Regions from separate parts of the Homo sapiens genome. Here regions 1 and 3 are each linked to region 2. Evidence: promoter capture Hi-C in 16 types of primary human blood cells and fetal thymus (Javierre and others, 2016). All regions are on one chromosome and are shown on one strand. The core of a region is centred on a gene start or on the middle of the fragment in contact, and the rest is flanking DNA. Distances in the headings are between cores, read along the strand shown. Region 1 overlaps GNG7 (G protein subunit gamma 7). Region 2 holds the start of ZNF77 (zinc finger protein 77). Region 3 has its middle 11 kb from the start of CELF5.

The links. The method cuts DNA at HindIII sites, captures the fragments that hold promoters and counts their contacts. A CHiCAGO score of 5 or more calls a contact.
Region 1: a contact is called between a fragment that was not itself captured here and the fragment with the promoter of ZNF77 in region 2, in 1 of 17 cell types (megakaryocytes). The highest score is 5.4, in megakaryocytes.
Region 3: a fragment that was not itself captured here is called in contact with the fragment with the promoter of ZNF77 in region 2 in 1 of 17 cell types (megakaryocytes); the score reaches 6.1 in megakaryocytes.

What each region holds. Positions count from the first base shown.
Region 1 is chr19:2,660,002-2,664,979 of GRCh38, forward strand. All of the region lies in intron 1 of GNG7 (G protein subunit gamma 7), which reads right to left. Among named protein-coding and RNA genes, the nearest start is that of MIR7850, 32 kb to the left of the region's middle. The HindIII fragment of the contact is 2,766 bases long and covers 1-2,637 here.
Region 2 is chr19:2,941,954-2,946,933 of GRCh38, forward strand. ZNF77 (zinc finger protein 77) reads right to left here and starts at 3,018. Exons shown (of 4, transcript NM_021217.3): 1 at 2,885-3,018. The coding sequence starts at 2,887. RefSeq lists silencers at 2,714-2,793, 2,934-3,183 and an enhancer at 3,254-3,413. The HindIII fragment of the contact is 3,842 bases long and covers 1,420-4,980 here.
Region 3 is chr19:3,211,127-3,215,804 of GRCh38, forward strand. No RefSeq gene overlaps it. Among named protein-coding and RNA genes, the nearest start is that of CELF5, 11 kb to the right of the region's middle. The HindIII fragment of the contact is 4,507 bases long and covers 132-4,638 here.

The DNA of each region.
Region 1 (4,978 bases), core at 5-2,504, 280 kb before region 2:
AGCCTGGATTAACCCACACCAGAGCCATCCTCCTCACCGAGGGGCCATGGCGGCGAGCGGATCACACAGCAGTCCTCATGGAATCCGTCCCAATTAGCCTCTGTCGGATTACTCACAGAACCTGCCATCCGTGGAAGGCAGATTAGCCTAGGATGCATGTGTAAATCCCATTTGGTGAACGAAAGCATATTCTGGAGATGATTAGCTTATTTCTGCAAGATGGCATCAAGTGGGAGATAACACATCTTCATCCCCGTTACACCCACAAGGCTCTGTGTAATTCTCCCTGAGCCTCATCCCTTTCCAATCCTGATTCCCTGTGGGAGAAACACAATTCCTTCCATTGAAGGGTTGATGCTGTGGGTAAGACCTTTTCATCCTCCTGCTCCAAAACCACAGGGAAGGGAGAAACTGGACGTATATTTTTCATCTGTTTACCATGTTCCTGCCCTCAAAGGTACAAGAAGACAAGCTAGAAAGTAGACGAGGCTGGGTGTGGTGGCTCACGCCTGTGATCCCAGCACGTTGGGAGGCTGAGATGGGAGGATGGGGGCCTAGGAGTTCAAGACCAGCCTGGGCAACATAGTGAGACACCCCCACCACCAACACCCCACCACCATCTGTACAAAAAATACAAAAATTAGCCAGTCGTGATGGTGTGCCCCTGTAATCACAGCTACTTGGAAGCCTGAGGCAGGAGGATCACTGGAGCCCAGGAGTTCAAGACTGTGGGGAGCCATGCTCATACCACTGCACTCCAGCCTGGGCAATGGAGGAAGACCCTGTCTCAAATAAATAAATAAAGACACAGTGACTTTTGCTTGTTCTTTCTTGGGTCATGTGTTCTGGGGGAAGCCAGCTGCCATGTTGTGGGGAAATGCAGGCAGTGCTGTGAAGAAATCCATGTGTTGCAGAAATGGGCCCTCCAGGCCGGGCACGTTGGCTCACACCTGTAATCCCAGTACTCTGGGAGGCCGAGGCGGGCAGATCACCTGAGGTTGGGAGTTCGAGGTCAGCCTGACCAACATGGAGAAACCCTGTCTCTACTAAAAATACAAAATTAGCCGGGCGTGGTGGTGCATGCCTGTAATCCCAGCTACTAGAGAGGCTGAGACAGGAGAATTACTTGAACCTGGGAGGCGGAGGTTGCAGTGAGCCAAGATCGTGCCACTGCACTCCAGCCTGGGCAACAAGAGCAAAACTCTGTCTCAAAAAAAAAAAAAAGAAAAGGAAAGAAAGAAAGAAAAGAAAGAAAGAAAGAAAGAAAGAAAAGAAAGAAAGAAAGAAAGAAAGAAAGAAAGAGAAAGAAAGAAAGAAAGAAAGAAAGAAAGAAAGAAAGAAAGAAAGAAAGAAAGAAAGAAATGGGCCCTCCAGGCTGGGCACAGTGGCTCATGCCTATAATCCCAGCACTCTGGGAGGCCAAGGTTGGGGCAGGTCATTTGAGATCAGGAATTTGAGACCAGCCTGGCCAACACAGTGAAACCCTATCTCTACTAAAAAAAAATATAAAAATTAGCCAGTAATTGGCTAATTACTGTAATTATGCCTGTAATCTCAGCTACTCGGGAGGCTGAGGCAGAAGAATTGCATGAATCCAAGAGGCAGAGGTTGCAGTGAGCCAAGATTGTGCCACTGCACTCTAGCCTGGCTGACAAAGTGAGACTCCATTAAAAAAAAAAAAAAAAAAAAAGGAAGGAAGGAAGGAAAAAAGGAAAGAAGGAAGGAACGACTCATTTGGGCATTTTGCCCTCCTGTCAAGGCCAGTTGGAAGCTGAGGCCTCCACCAACAGCCACATGAGGGCGCCCTCTTGAAAGCAGCTCCTCCAGCTCCAATCGAGCCTTCAGATGATACAGCCCCAGCACATTCACTGCCAGAATCACCCAGTGGAGCTGCTTCCTAACTCCTGAGTGAGGGTGGAAAAAACTCAAACTCAAATTGCTTTTCCTCTTGCTCTCACATCAACAGCAATCAACATGGCCAGGTGCAGTGGCTCACGCCTGTAATCCCAGCACTTTCAGAGGCCAAGGCAGGTGGATCACTTAAGATCAGGAGTTTGAGACCAGCGTGACCAACACGGTGAAACCCTGTCTCTACCAAAAATACAAAAATTAGCCAGGCGTGGTTGTGGGCACCTGTAATCTCAGCTACTCAGGAGGCTGAGGCAGGAGAATCACTTGAACCTGGGGGGCGGAGGCTGCAGTGAGCAGAGATTGCACCATTGCACTCCAGTCTGGGCGACAGAGCGAGACTCCATCTCAAAAAAAAAAAAAAAAAAAAATCAACCCAAGATATTTCTGTGACCAAATGTGAGAGGAGTTTCCCCACACACCAGCTAGCTGTCCCCTAATTCGATTCAGTTCAATTCAATTCAGGTGCTATCTACCTGGAGACAGCCTTGGACCCCACAGGTTGAGGGCTAAATCCCCCCACAAGACTGCCCCTAACCTCTTCAGATACCAGTAGCAAGTTTGGGCCTCCAGAACTTCCAACTGACCAGCTTGAAGTTAGGGTTGGGTTTAATTTACTACAGCAGCTCTCGGAATTCAGGGAAACACATTTACTGGTTTAATATAAAGCATATTACAAAGAATACAGACGAAAAGATGCATAGGATGAGGTATAGGGAAGAAGGGCAAAGCTTCCTTGGCATGCTACCCTTCAGGAACCTCCATGTGCTCAGCTATCTCAAAGTTCTCCAAACCCCGTCCTTTTGAAGTTTTATGGAGGCTTTACTTCATAGGCATGACTGATCGCGTCACTGGCCACTGGTCATCACCTCAACCTTCAGCCCTTCTCCCCTCCCCAGAGGCTGGAGGGTACAGCTAAAGGTTCCAGCCCTCTCATCCTGCCTTGATCTTTCTGGTGGCCAGACCATTCCTGAAAATAACTAGAAGCTGTCAGCCATCAGTCGACTTATCATCATACAAAAAGACATGACTTTGCAGATTCCAAGGATTTTAGGAGTTCTGCACCAGAAAAAAATCAGGACAAAGACCAAATAATATAATAAATATAATGCAAGTAATATAATATCCCACTGACCCACAGAAACTGCAGGATAGTAAATGCTTGCTGTTTAAGCTAAGTGTTGGGGTAATTTGTTACACAGTGATAGATAACTGGTACATCTGCAAAGGGAAGGAAGGGCTGATCCACATGACTCCTCCAAGCAGATGTTGCTATAGTTTGAATGTGTCTCCCAAAAAGCATATTGTAGAAACTTTAATTCCCAATGCCACCATGTTGAGAGGTGAGAACTTTAAGAGGTGATTAGGTTATGAAGGCCCTACCCTCATTAATGCCATCTCTCTTTCTCTCTCCCTCTCACCCTTTCTCTCTCTCTCCCCCCCCTCCTCTTTCTTCCCCAGTTCCCCAATCTTTCATATATGTGCTCTTTTGCCCTTCCACCTCTGACGCAGCAAGAAGGCCCTCACCAGATGCCAGCACCTCGACATTGGACTTCCCAGTCCCTAGAACCGTTAAGAAACAAATCTCTATTATTTATAAATTATCCAGTCTATGGCATTCCATTATAGCAGCACAAAATAAAGACAGGTGTGTAGTCAAACATTACCTTTTCCTAAAAGCCAGCAATTGGATTTTTCATTTTCTTGTTTTTCCAATATCTATCAACCTGATAATTGGGAGAGATGCAAAAGCCCAGATGGATAAGGTACATTCACTGAGGGCAAATCAGAAGAATGACCAGGCCAAGAAAATGATTCATTTTGGCATTTTGCAAATTATCAAGATATGCATGCCAGCACCAGTTTTTAAAACTGAACAAATCCACTGGCTTTTATCTATTTCCTACTAAAGCAACGTGGCTTGATCTTGACACTATTAAACTGGGGCTTGATTATTCTCTGGGGTGGGGCCGTTCTGGGCACTGCACAGTGCTGAGTAGCATCCCTGGTCTCCACCTACTCCAGGCCAGGAGCACCCCCAAGTCACGGTACCCACAAATGTCCCCAGACATTACCAGTGTCCCCCAGGGGGCAGGCTTGCCCCCAGTTGAGACCCAATGCTCTAAGGCATGTCCCTCAAGGGCAGGACAGCCAGGGACCTGACATTTGATGACAGGCCTATCCTCCACCGCCCCCCAGGCCCGGCTGCACTTCCTCCTCTGGGAACTGAGTGGGCAGGACGGGCTGTCAGAGCCCCCTTCCCTTCCCACGCTGACATTCTGCCAGCACGTGGCAGGGGCGTCTTGTCTCGTTGGAGGCTGGATATAGAAACACAGCCCTGTCCTTTGTGCCATCGCTGAAGTTGTCAACCTCAGCCTTCACTCATCACCACAGCAACCATCTAAATATGTCACCAGCAAAGTGCTGATTGCAAAGGAAGGGGGCAGAGAGGCCTGGACGGGCTCTCACCCAGGTGCAGGCGCAGGGGAGGTGCCGGGACTGGGGGAGTGACGTGGCTGCTTCAGAGCCACGAGACTGATGACGGCCAGGCCGGGCGTGACCTGGAACAGGCTCCACTGCACCCTGGGGCACACAGAACAAAGGGGCAGGCCTGCTTGACCCTGAGGGTTCAAGGTCTCTGTGAGCCGAGGTCAAGGAGGGGGAAGGAACAATCAGACGGTTGGCTCTGTGTCCTGCACCCTCAGTGCTCTAGAGACCCTCCTCACCCAGTCCTCTAGGTCACTCTGGGAGGATGGCCCCGGCTGACACCGTCTGCCCCATCGGGAATCTATTCTGGTGTCTACTGTGAGCAGGGAGCAAACTCATTTTTTTGCCAGTTAATGCAAGGTCTCTCCCCTGGAAACCGTGGACATTCAGAGCTGGGTCATTCTCTAGGGTGCAGCTGTCCCGGACACTGCAGGGTGCTGAGCAGTGTCCCTGGCCTCCACCCACTCCACGCCACGACCATCCTCAAGTTGTGACAACGACAAATGTCCTCAGACAACACCCAGTGTCCCCTGGGGCAGAATCACCCTCAGTTGACACCCCCTGAATTAGGAAATTCCACGGA
Region 2 (4,980 bases), core at 1,768-4,267:
CAGCAGCCTTCTCGGGCTAAGCCATGGTATAACACCAGGCAGTGGCAGAAGGCAAAGAACACATCCAAGACAATGACTGCCCTCACTAAGGACAAGAAAAAAAAGGCAAAAAGCATTTATTCTTTTTTTTTTTTTTGAGACAGGGTCTTGCTCCGTCTCCCAGGCTGGAGTGCAGTGAAACAATCTCAGCTCGCTGCAACCTCCGCCTCCCCGGTTCAAGCGATTCTCCTGCCTCAGACTCCCAAGTAGCTGGGATTGCAGGCACTTGCCATCACACCTGGCTAATTTTGATATTTTTAGTAGAGACGGGGTTTCCCCATGTCAATCAGGGTGGTCTTGAATTCCTGACCTTGTGATCCGCCCACCTCAGCCACTCAAAGTGCTAGGATTACAGGTGTGAGCCACCGCGCCCGGCTCTTTTTTTTTTTTTTTTTTTTTCCAGACAGGGTCTAGCTCTGTTGCCCAGGCTGGAGTGGAGTGGTACAGCCTCAAACTCGTGGGCTCAAGCGATTCTCCCCCCTCAGCCTCTCAAGTGGCTGGGACCACAGGTGCGCATCCCCATGCCCGGCCTCATTATTTTACATTTACTAAAACCTGGGGCTGAAATAGGAACAATACCAATGCTGAGCTGGACACAGACGAGGCTGTTCGCAGCTGTCAGGTGACAATGTTGAACTGACTTCAGCTCTGTGCTCCTGGAAACCAGCAAAGGTGAAACCCCGTCCTGCTGTGCTCTGGAATTGGGACAGCCAGGACCCTCCCTTCCCATACGACTTAGATAAGATTCACGCAGATGACAAGGCCAGATTCAGACCCTCCGAAATCCCATTCTTTGTCATCAGAAATGATTCACTAGGTTAGGTGTGCCCAGGCTGGAGTGCAGTGGTGTGATCATGGCTCACTGCAACCTCTGCCTCCCGAGTTCAAGCAATTCTCCCTGCCTCAGCCTTCCAAGTAGCTGGGATTACAGGCACACACTACCACGCCCGGCTAATTTTTGTATTTTTTAGTAGAGATGGGATTTCACCATGTTGGCCAGGCTGGTCTTGAACTCCTGACCTCAGGTGATCCACCTGCCTCAGCCTCCCAAAGTGCTGGGAGTACAGGCATGAGCCACCGCGCCAGGCCTAGCCAACTCTTCAGATGCCTGCATACTTGACGGTCACAGAGCTCTCCCCCTGCAGCTGTCTCCCTGTGGCTACAGCATTAGTCCCGCAGCTCAATCATCAACTGTCCCCATGCCCCTGTTGCTTATACCCCCACCCCACTGCAATAGAACCTCAAGCCTCTGGCATTACTCTCCTGCCTCTAATCCAACTAACCCTTCTCCCTATTGCAACAGCCCCTTCTCCCCCTCCCCCAATACCTCGCAATAATCCTTTTTCATAAAAGTTTCCTTACTACGTTTGGGTTTACACAAGCTTGACCACATGTTCGCAGCCTCCCGTTTCTTCCCCAAACTTTACTCAGCCTTCTGTCCTCTCCGCAGGCCCCTGAACTTTGGCCCCCCCGAGTCTGAGCAAGCAGTAAGTGTGGAGTCCCCTGTCACCTCCCCTGAGCTAGCTGACCACGAGGAGGTACATTTACTGTCAACCTCCTTTCTGCTTGTCCCCTAAAACGTTCCTCCAAACCTTTTCTTGTGTATGAAAGTAAAGCCTTTTCCTGGTTGATTTTGAGACCTGGCAGGTTTCGGAGGCTGGGGCTTATCCCTATTTTTCTCTCTCCTTCTCTAGCCAGGATTTTTTTTTTTTTTTTTTTTTTTGGTTTTTGTTTTTGAGACGGAGTCTTTCTCTGTCGCCAGGCTGGAGTGCAGCGGCGCCATGTCGGCTCACTGCAAGCTCCACCTCCCAGGTTCACGCCATTCTCCTGTCTCAGCCTCCCTGGTAGCTGGGATTGCAGGCGCCCGCCACCACGCCGGGCTAATTTTTGTATTTTTAGTAGAGACGGGATTTCGCCATGTTGTCCAGGCTGGTCTGGAACTCCTGACCTCAGGTGATCCGCCCGCCTCGGCCTCCCAAAGTGCTGGGATTACAGGCGTGAGCCACCGCGCCCGGCCCAGGATTTTATTATTTGACAGGCTCCAGGACAGGGCACCACCTCCTCCTTGGCAGACCTTCCCAAACTGACCACCAAGCCCCTGACGGCTCCTGCCCTCTCCTCCCACTCTCCCCGATCCCCTGACTGCCTCTACTGTCCCCCAACACATCCCTCGAGCCCGACTCCCTTTACTGTCCCCCCAAACTTCCCTCAAGCCCCTGATCGCCTCTACTGCCCCCCTTAAAGTGCCCCTGAGCCCCTGACTGCTTCTGCTGTCCCCTCGAGCTGCCCCCAAACTCCCGACTGCAGCTACTGTCCCCCTAAACTGCCTTCGAGCCCCTGATCACCTGTCCCCCAAAACTGCCCCTTCAAACCCATGACCGCCTCTACGGCCCCCTCAAACTGTCCCCGAGTTCCTGACCGCTGCTATTGGCCCCCTAATCTGCCCTTGAGCCTGACTCCCTTCCACTGAACCCCCAAACTGCCGCCGAGCCCCTGACCGTGTCTGTTCCCGCAAACTGCCCCTGTGCCCCTTAAACCTCTACTGTCCACTTAAATTGCCTCAAGCCCCTGACCACCTCTGCTGTCCCCACAAGCTCTCCCCAAACTCCTGACCTGTACTGTCCCCAGAAACTACCCCTCGAGCCCCTGACCGCTTTTGCTGTCACCCCAGACTGCCCCCAGCCCTACCCCTCGGCCGCTGTGACCACGTCCCCGGGGCCCAGGCGCTCGTCGTGCGCCGCCCCGCGCGTCCCTCAGCTTTCTCCGGCTGCGAACTCGGGCGGAAGCCGGTTCCTGCCGCCCCACCTCGCCCTGGGCCCGGGCTCGGCTCCCGCCCGGCACTCACCATGTCCCGCCCGCTCCTGGGCTCTCCAGGGTTAGCGCCCCGCGGTCCAGCGACCGGCGCAGGTGAGCACGACAGGACACCTGAGCCGCTCGGGGTAGGCGGGGAAGCGCGCAAGGCAGAGGGGAACTCGGCTTACCGTCCTCGGGGTCTGATTGGACAGATCTCGGGAAGTGGAGACTCTGATTGGACAGTGCTGTCGACTCCGCACCCCTGATTGGAGAATTCTCCAGTCCGTCCCCCTAGCGCCCTTGATTGGGCAGGGCTCCGCTTCGGATTAACGTCTCTGATTGGACAGTTCCCTAGGCCCCGCCCCTGCCTGTCCTGATTGGATAATTCTCTCCTCAGTGACGGGCTCGTCGAGAACACGCGTGGCTGACCCTCTAGCCGGGCAGCCGCGGATCTGGGAGAACTCACTCCAGTCCAGGGAGGGCGCGGCGTCCTCCTCCCTGACTGCACGGCAACTCCAGACTCAGTTTCCCCTCGGAGCGGCCCCTCGTGCGGGGAGGAGAGGAAGGGCACGGAGTCCCATGGGGCGGAGTCCTGCGTGGGGGCGGGACCCGCGTGCGTGACGTCACCGTGCTGTCCCGCGTGGGCGCGGACGCCTGGGGTCCAGAGACCTGGAGATCTGGAGACCAGACGACGAGGCCCCAGGAGGCCGGACCCCACCAGGCGCTCCCTGTGTTCTTAAAACTCTCGGCCGGGCGCGGTGGTTCACGCCGGTAATCCCAGCACCGTGAGAGGCGGAGACCGGCGGATCATCAGAGGTCAGGAGTTCAAGTCCAGCCTGACCAAAATGGCGAAAACCACTTCTCTCCTAAAAATACAAAAATTAGCTGGGCACGGTGGCGGGCGCCTGTAATCCCAGCTACTCCGGAGGCTGAGGCAGGAGAATCGCTTGAACCCAGGAGGCGGAGATTGCAGTGAGCCAAGATCAGGACACTGCACTCCAGCCTGGGCAACAAGAGCGAAACTGAGTCTCAAAAAAAAAAAAAGCAGCCCTCCCACAAACAGAACCACGTAAGGTCATGAAGAGAGAGGTCTCACATTTATATGCTTAATAACGAAAAAGACTCTACAAAAACCACAGGCTTAAACAAAAAATACTTTTACAGGGACACTCAGACTGGTGTGACCCTTGTTACTGATCTTTGTAGACAAGGATAATTATTTCTGAAAAATGATGTAATCCTCATTTAAAATTTTTTTTTTCCTTTATAAACCTTTGTCCCAGTCTGGGCAACATGGCAAAACCCCATATATACAAAAAATACAAAAATTAGCTGGGAATAAAGGAGTGTGCGCCTATGGTCCCAACGACTTGATAGGCTGAAGCAGGAGGATCGCTCGAGCCCGTGGGGATTGAGGCTGCAGTGAGCTGTGATCTCACCATTGTACTCCAGCCTGGGCAACAGAGACCCCCGTCTCAAAAAAATGAAAACCAAAAACAACCTTTGTCTTCCTTTACCTCCCTGAATAAGCACATAGTTTGCTATGCCGCGCATATTCCCACTGCAATGAACTGTTACCACCGTTTTTAGACAGCCTGTTATTTAGGTCGACACAGTAAAAACATGAATTACGACAATTATGTTTGTATGTAAAATGGCAAGCGATATAGAGTTTATACTTCTACTCTGTCTCAAGCTGGAAAGTCTTTTCGGAGATGAGCAGTCGCGTTCCAGGCTTTAGGAATTGCGGCTCAACTGAATAAAAGTATTCAGAATTTTCACGTCGAGTTCAAATTTATTTAAACTTCTATGATTATTTTCTCAAATGAGTTAAAATAAGAATTCAATTACCATAGGAACAGTACAGCCTTTTACTTTAAGAAATTCTCTAGGGCCGGGCGCAGTGGCTCACGCCTATAATCCCAGCACTTTGGGAGGCTGAGGCAGGTGGATCACCTGAGGTCAAGAGTTCGAGACCAGCCTGGCCAACATGGCAAAACCCTTGTCTCTACTAAAAATATAAAAATTAGCCGGGCGTGGTGGCACATGCCTGTAATCCCAACTACTTGGGAGGCTGAGGCAGGAGAATCACTAGAGCCCGGGAGGCGGGGATTGCAGACCCAAGATCGCACCACTGCACTCCGCCTG
Region 3 (4,678 bases), core at 1,135-3,634, 270 kb after region 2:
CCTCTTCTCAGACCAGGGAACTTCAGAAACAGGCAGGGAACCCACCCCCCCACCAGGGTCCCCTAGGAATCGGCAACAGAGCCTCAAACCCAGCACGGGGTCTCTGCCTCCCCAAAACATGTGGCAGGAGAAGCTTGTTCAGGAGGGAGAGGAGGGAGGGGATGGACCCAGAGCGAAAGGCAGGCAGGGCAGGGTTGCAGGAAAAGAAAGAGGCTCACCTGACTCCGGAGCATGGGGCCGCTGGCCACTGGGGATGGAATGGCGGGGGCAGTGCTTACCTGACCCCGGAGCATGGGGCCGCTGGCCACTGGGGATGGAATGGTGGGGGCAGTGCTTGGGCTTCCCTGGGCGGCGAGCAGAGGCCAGGTTCGGCCCCCACGTGCTGTGTGGCCCTGGGGCATGGGGGCTGTGCCTCCCTGGACCAAATTTTACCAGTTCAGGGGGCTCTAGGGTCCAGGGGTTTGACCTTCTTGGGGTCCTGCGTGATTCTCCAGGAGCTTAGCAGGGCCAAGAGTGGACAGTGGCTGCCCACCTCTGTGCAGGCAGAAGGTGGCTTTGGCCCCATCGTGGACCCAGGCAAACCCCATTTTAGAGGAAAAGCCAGCCCATCATCTTCCCTGCTAACATACACAGGTAATTTTTCCTTTTTTTTTTTTTTTTTAGAGACAGGGTCTCACACCCGGCATGGTGGCTTCACGTCTGTAATCCCAGCACTCTGGGAGTCAGAGGCAGGAGGATCACTTGAGGTCAGAGTTTGAGACCAGCCTGGCCAACATGATGAAAACCCGTCTCTGCTAAAAATATAAAAATTAGCCGGGGGTGGTGGTACACATCTGTAGTCCCAGCTACTCGGGAGGCCGAGGCAGAAGAATCCATTGAACCTGGGAAGCGGAGGTTGCAGTGAGCCAAGATCATGCCACTGCACTGCAGCCTGGGCGACAGAGCGAGACTTTGACTCAAAAAACATAAAATAGGGTCTTGCTCTGTCACCCAGGCTGGAGTGCAGTGGTGCAATCATAGCTCACTGCAGCCTTGACCTGGGCTCAAGTGATCCTCCTGCCACAGCCTCCCAAGTAGCTGGGACTGCAGGCAAATGCCACCATGCCCGGCTACATTTTGTAAATATTTTTGTAGAGATTGGATCTTGCCATGTTGCCCAGGCTGGTCTTGAACTCCTGGCCTCAAGCAATCCTCTCACTTCAGCCTCTGAACGCACTAGGAATACAGGCATGAACCACTGTGCCCGGCCGGATTAGTTTCATTCAACTATCGATTCAGCGAACACTTGAACTCTGCTCTGCCAGGTCCTGTGCCAGGCTCAGGGATACAGGCGTGTGCAAGAGACGCTGGCCTGGACGCCATGGGGCTCGCAGTCCACTGTGGGAGTTGGATAATAAGTGGTCAAGTAGGTGGGCTGCCTTCAGATGGTGATCAATGGCTGGGTGCTGTTTTACAATTGAGTCCACACTGGAGGCTCCCTGAGGAGGGACTTTGAGGTTTTGTTTTGTTTGCTTGTTTGTTTTTTTGAGACAGTCTTGCTCTGTCACCCAGGCTGGAGTGTAGAGGCCCTATCTTGACTCACGGCAACCTTCGTCTCCTGGGTCCAAGCGATTCTCCTGCTGCAGCCTCCCTGAGTAGCTGGGACTAGAGAGGTATGCCACCAAATTTTGTATTTTTAGTAGAAATCAGGTTTTGGCATATTGGCCAGGCTGACCTTGAACTCCTAACCTCAGGAGATCTGCCCGCCTCGGCCTCCCGAAGTGCCGGGACTACAGGTGTGACACCACGCCCGGCCTGTTTGAGTTTGACTCTGTCACCCGGGCTGGAGTGCAGTGATGTGTTCTCGGCTCACTGCAACTTCCTTCTCCTGGGTTCAAGCAATTCTCATGCCTCAGCCTCCTGAGTAACTGGGACTACAGGCACCTGGCTAAATTTTTTTATTTTTAGTAGAGACAGGGTTTCACCATGTTGGCCAGGCTTGCCTCAAACTCCTGACCTCCGGTGATTCCCCGTCGCAGCCTCCCAAAGTGTTGGGTTTATGGGCGTGAGCCACTGCGCCCGGCCTGGAGGGGGCTTTTGAGTGAAATTGGAATGACAAGGATTATTACATCATGTGGAAATGTGGGGACAGTGGTTAAGGCAGTGAGCACAGCCGGTGCAAAGGCCCTGGGGCAGGATCGCGCCTGGTGTGTTGGAGGAACAGTGAGGAGGCCCATGTGGCTGGAGCAGAGTGAGCTGGGGGAGAGAGTGAGGCAGGAGAGAGAGGGAGGAGGGGGAGAAAGGAAGGGGAGAGGGAGGAGGGAGAGGGAGGAAGCAGGGAGGTTTCAGGCCATGCAGGGCCTCCTGGGGGAAGGGGAGGGTAAGGAGAGCAGAAATGGTGTCTGACCTTCACTGAATCTGGAAAGGTCACCGGCAGCCAGAGGACAGTTATGAAAATGAAACGAGGCCGGGCGCTGGGGCTCACACCTGTAATCCCAGCACTTTGGGAAGCCAAGGCAGGCGGATCACAAGGTCAAGAGATGGAGACCAACCTGGCCAACATGGTGAAGCCCCGTCTCTACTAAAAATACAAAAATTAGCCGGGCGTGGTAGCACGCACCTGTAGTCCCAGCTACTCGGGAGGCTGAGGCAGGAGAATCCTGTGAACCCAGGAGGCGGAGGTTGCAGTGAGCTTAGATCGTGCCGTTGCACCCCAGCCTGGGCGACAGAGCATGACTCTGTCTCAAAAAAAAAAAAAGAAAGGAAATGACATCGAGCTGCCCGTGTTGGGCACATGTGAGGCCTCTTTCCGGGGCTCCCTCGGTGCCCTCAGGCCTCACCTTAGCCCCGGTCAACCCTGGGCAGCAGTGAACGAGGAAGACAAAGACGTCCCCCCAGCAAGGGTATTGTACTACCTCCCAGAGGCCAGGTCCAGGGGCCATGATCTCTTCCTGGAGGCCTTTTAAGTTGATAAAACATCAGCTAATGTCCCTTGAAACCAGCACAGTTTCTCTCCAGAGGTGCTGTCCACTCTATGCATCTTTCTCATTTTTTATATTTTTTGTAGAGATGGAGTCTTGCTATTTGCACAGGCTGGCCTCTGTCTCCTGGCCTCAAGTGATGCTCCCGCCTCAGCCTCTCAAAGCTGTGGGAATACAGGTGTGAGCCACCGCGCCTGGGCCCCTGGGTAGATGCTTTTTTTTTTTTTTTTTGCTTTTTTTTTTGAGACGGAGTTTCGCTTTTGCTGCCCAGGCTGGAGTGCAGTGGCACGATCTCAGCTCACTGCAACCTCCACCTCCCAGGTTCAAGTGATTTTCCTGCCTCAGCCTCCCGAGTAGCTGGGATTACAGGCACCCGCCACCATGCCTGGCTAATTTTTTTATTTTTATTTATTTGTTTATTTATTGAGATGGAGTCTTGCTGTGTCACCCAGGCTGGCATGCAGTGGCACAATCTCGGCTCACTGCAACCTCTGCCTCCTGGGTTCAAGTGTTTCTCCGGCCTCAGCCTCCTGAGTAGCTGGGATTACAGGTGCGTGCCACCACACCCAGCTAATTTTTGTATTTGTAGTAGAGACAGGGTTTCACCGTGTTGGTCAGGCTGGTCTTGAACTCCTGACCCCGTGATCCACCTGCCTCAGCCTCCCAACGTGCTGGGATTACAGGCGTGAGCCACTGAACCTGGCCAATTTTTGTTATTTTTAGTAGAGATGGGGTTTCGCCATGTTGGCCAGGCTGGTCTCAAACTCCTGACCTCAGGTGATCCACCTGCTTCGGCCTCCCAAAGTGCCGGGATTACCTGTGTGAGCCACCGCGCCCAGACTTGGGTAATTGCTTTTCAGATGCTCATGTTACAGATGGTAACATGGAGGCCGAGCACAAGGGGTTCAGACGTGGATTGGACGAATCTGAGGGCCACGCCATTAGCCACATACTGAGTGGAGTGGGCGAAAAGGGCCCAGGTTTAGGTCACCGGGATAACCAGTGTCCAGAGATGGACGGCACTTACCTGAGGCCACAGAGCAGGTGAGGATGAGCCCCAGCGGGAGCGAGTAGCCAGGGAGCCGGCCTGCCTCCTGGGCTGGGGAGAAGACACTGGAAGAGCCTGGAGACCGCCCAGCCTCCCTGATTCCACGCTAGACATTTAATTCTTTCTTTTTCTTTTGAGACAGAGTCTCGCCCTGTCACGCAGGCTGGAATGCAGTGGCGTGATCTTGGCTCACTGCAGCCACCGCCTCCTGGGTTCAAGTGATTCTCCTGCCTCAACCTCCCGAGTAGCTGGAATTTGCAGGTGCCCGCCACCATGCTTGGCTAATTTTTTTTTTTTTTCAGCCAGTGGTGTAAATTTTCCTTTAAGAGATAGTAAGGTGTTTTCTGTCACCCAGGCCGGTGTATAGTGGCGCAATCATGGCTCACTGCAACCTAGACCTCCCAGGCTCAAGCGACCCTCCCACCTCGGCCTCCCAAGTAGCTGGGACTGCTGGTATGTGCCACCGCGCCCGGCTTATTTTTGTATTTTTGTAATTTTGTAGAGATAGGGTTTCTCTTTGTTGCGCAGGCTGGTCTGGAACTCGTGGGCTCCAGCGATTCTCCTGCCTTGGTCTCCCAAAGTAGTGGGATTACAGGCGTGAGCCACCACGCCAGCCACCTGGTCAAATGAAGCTTTTTTTTTTTTTTTCTGAGACGGAGTCTGGCTCTGT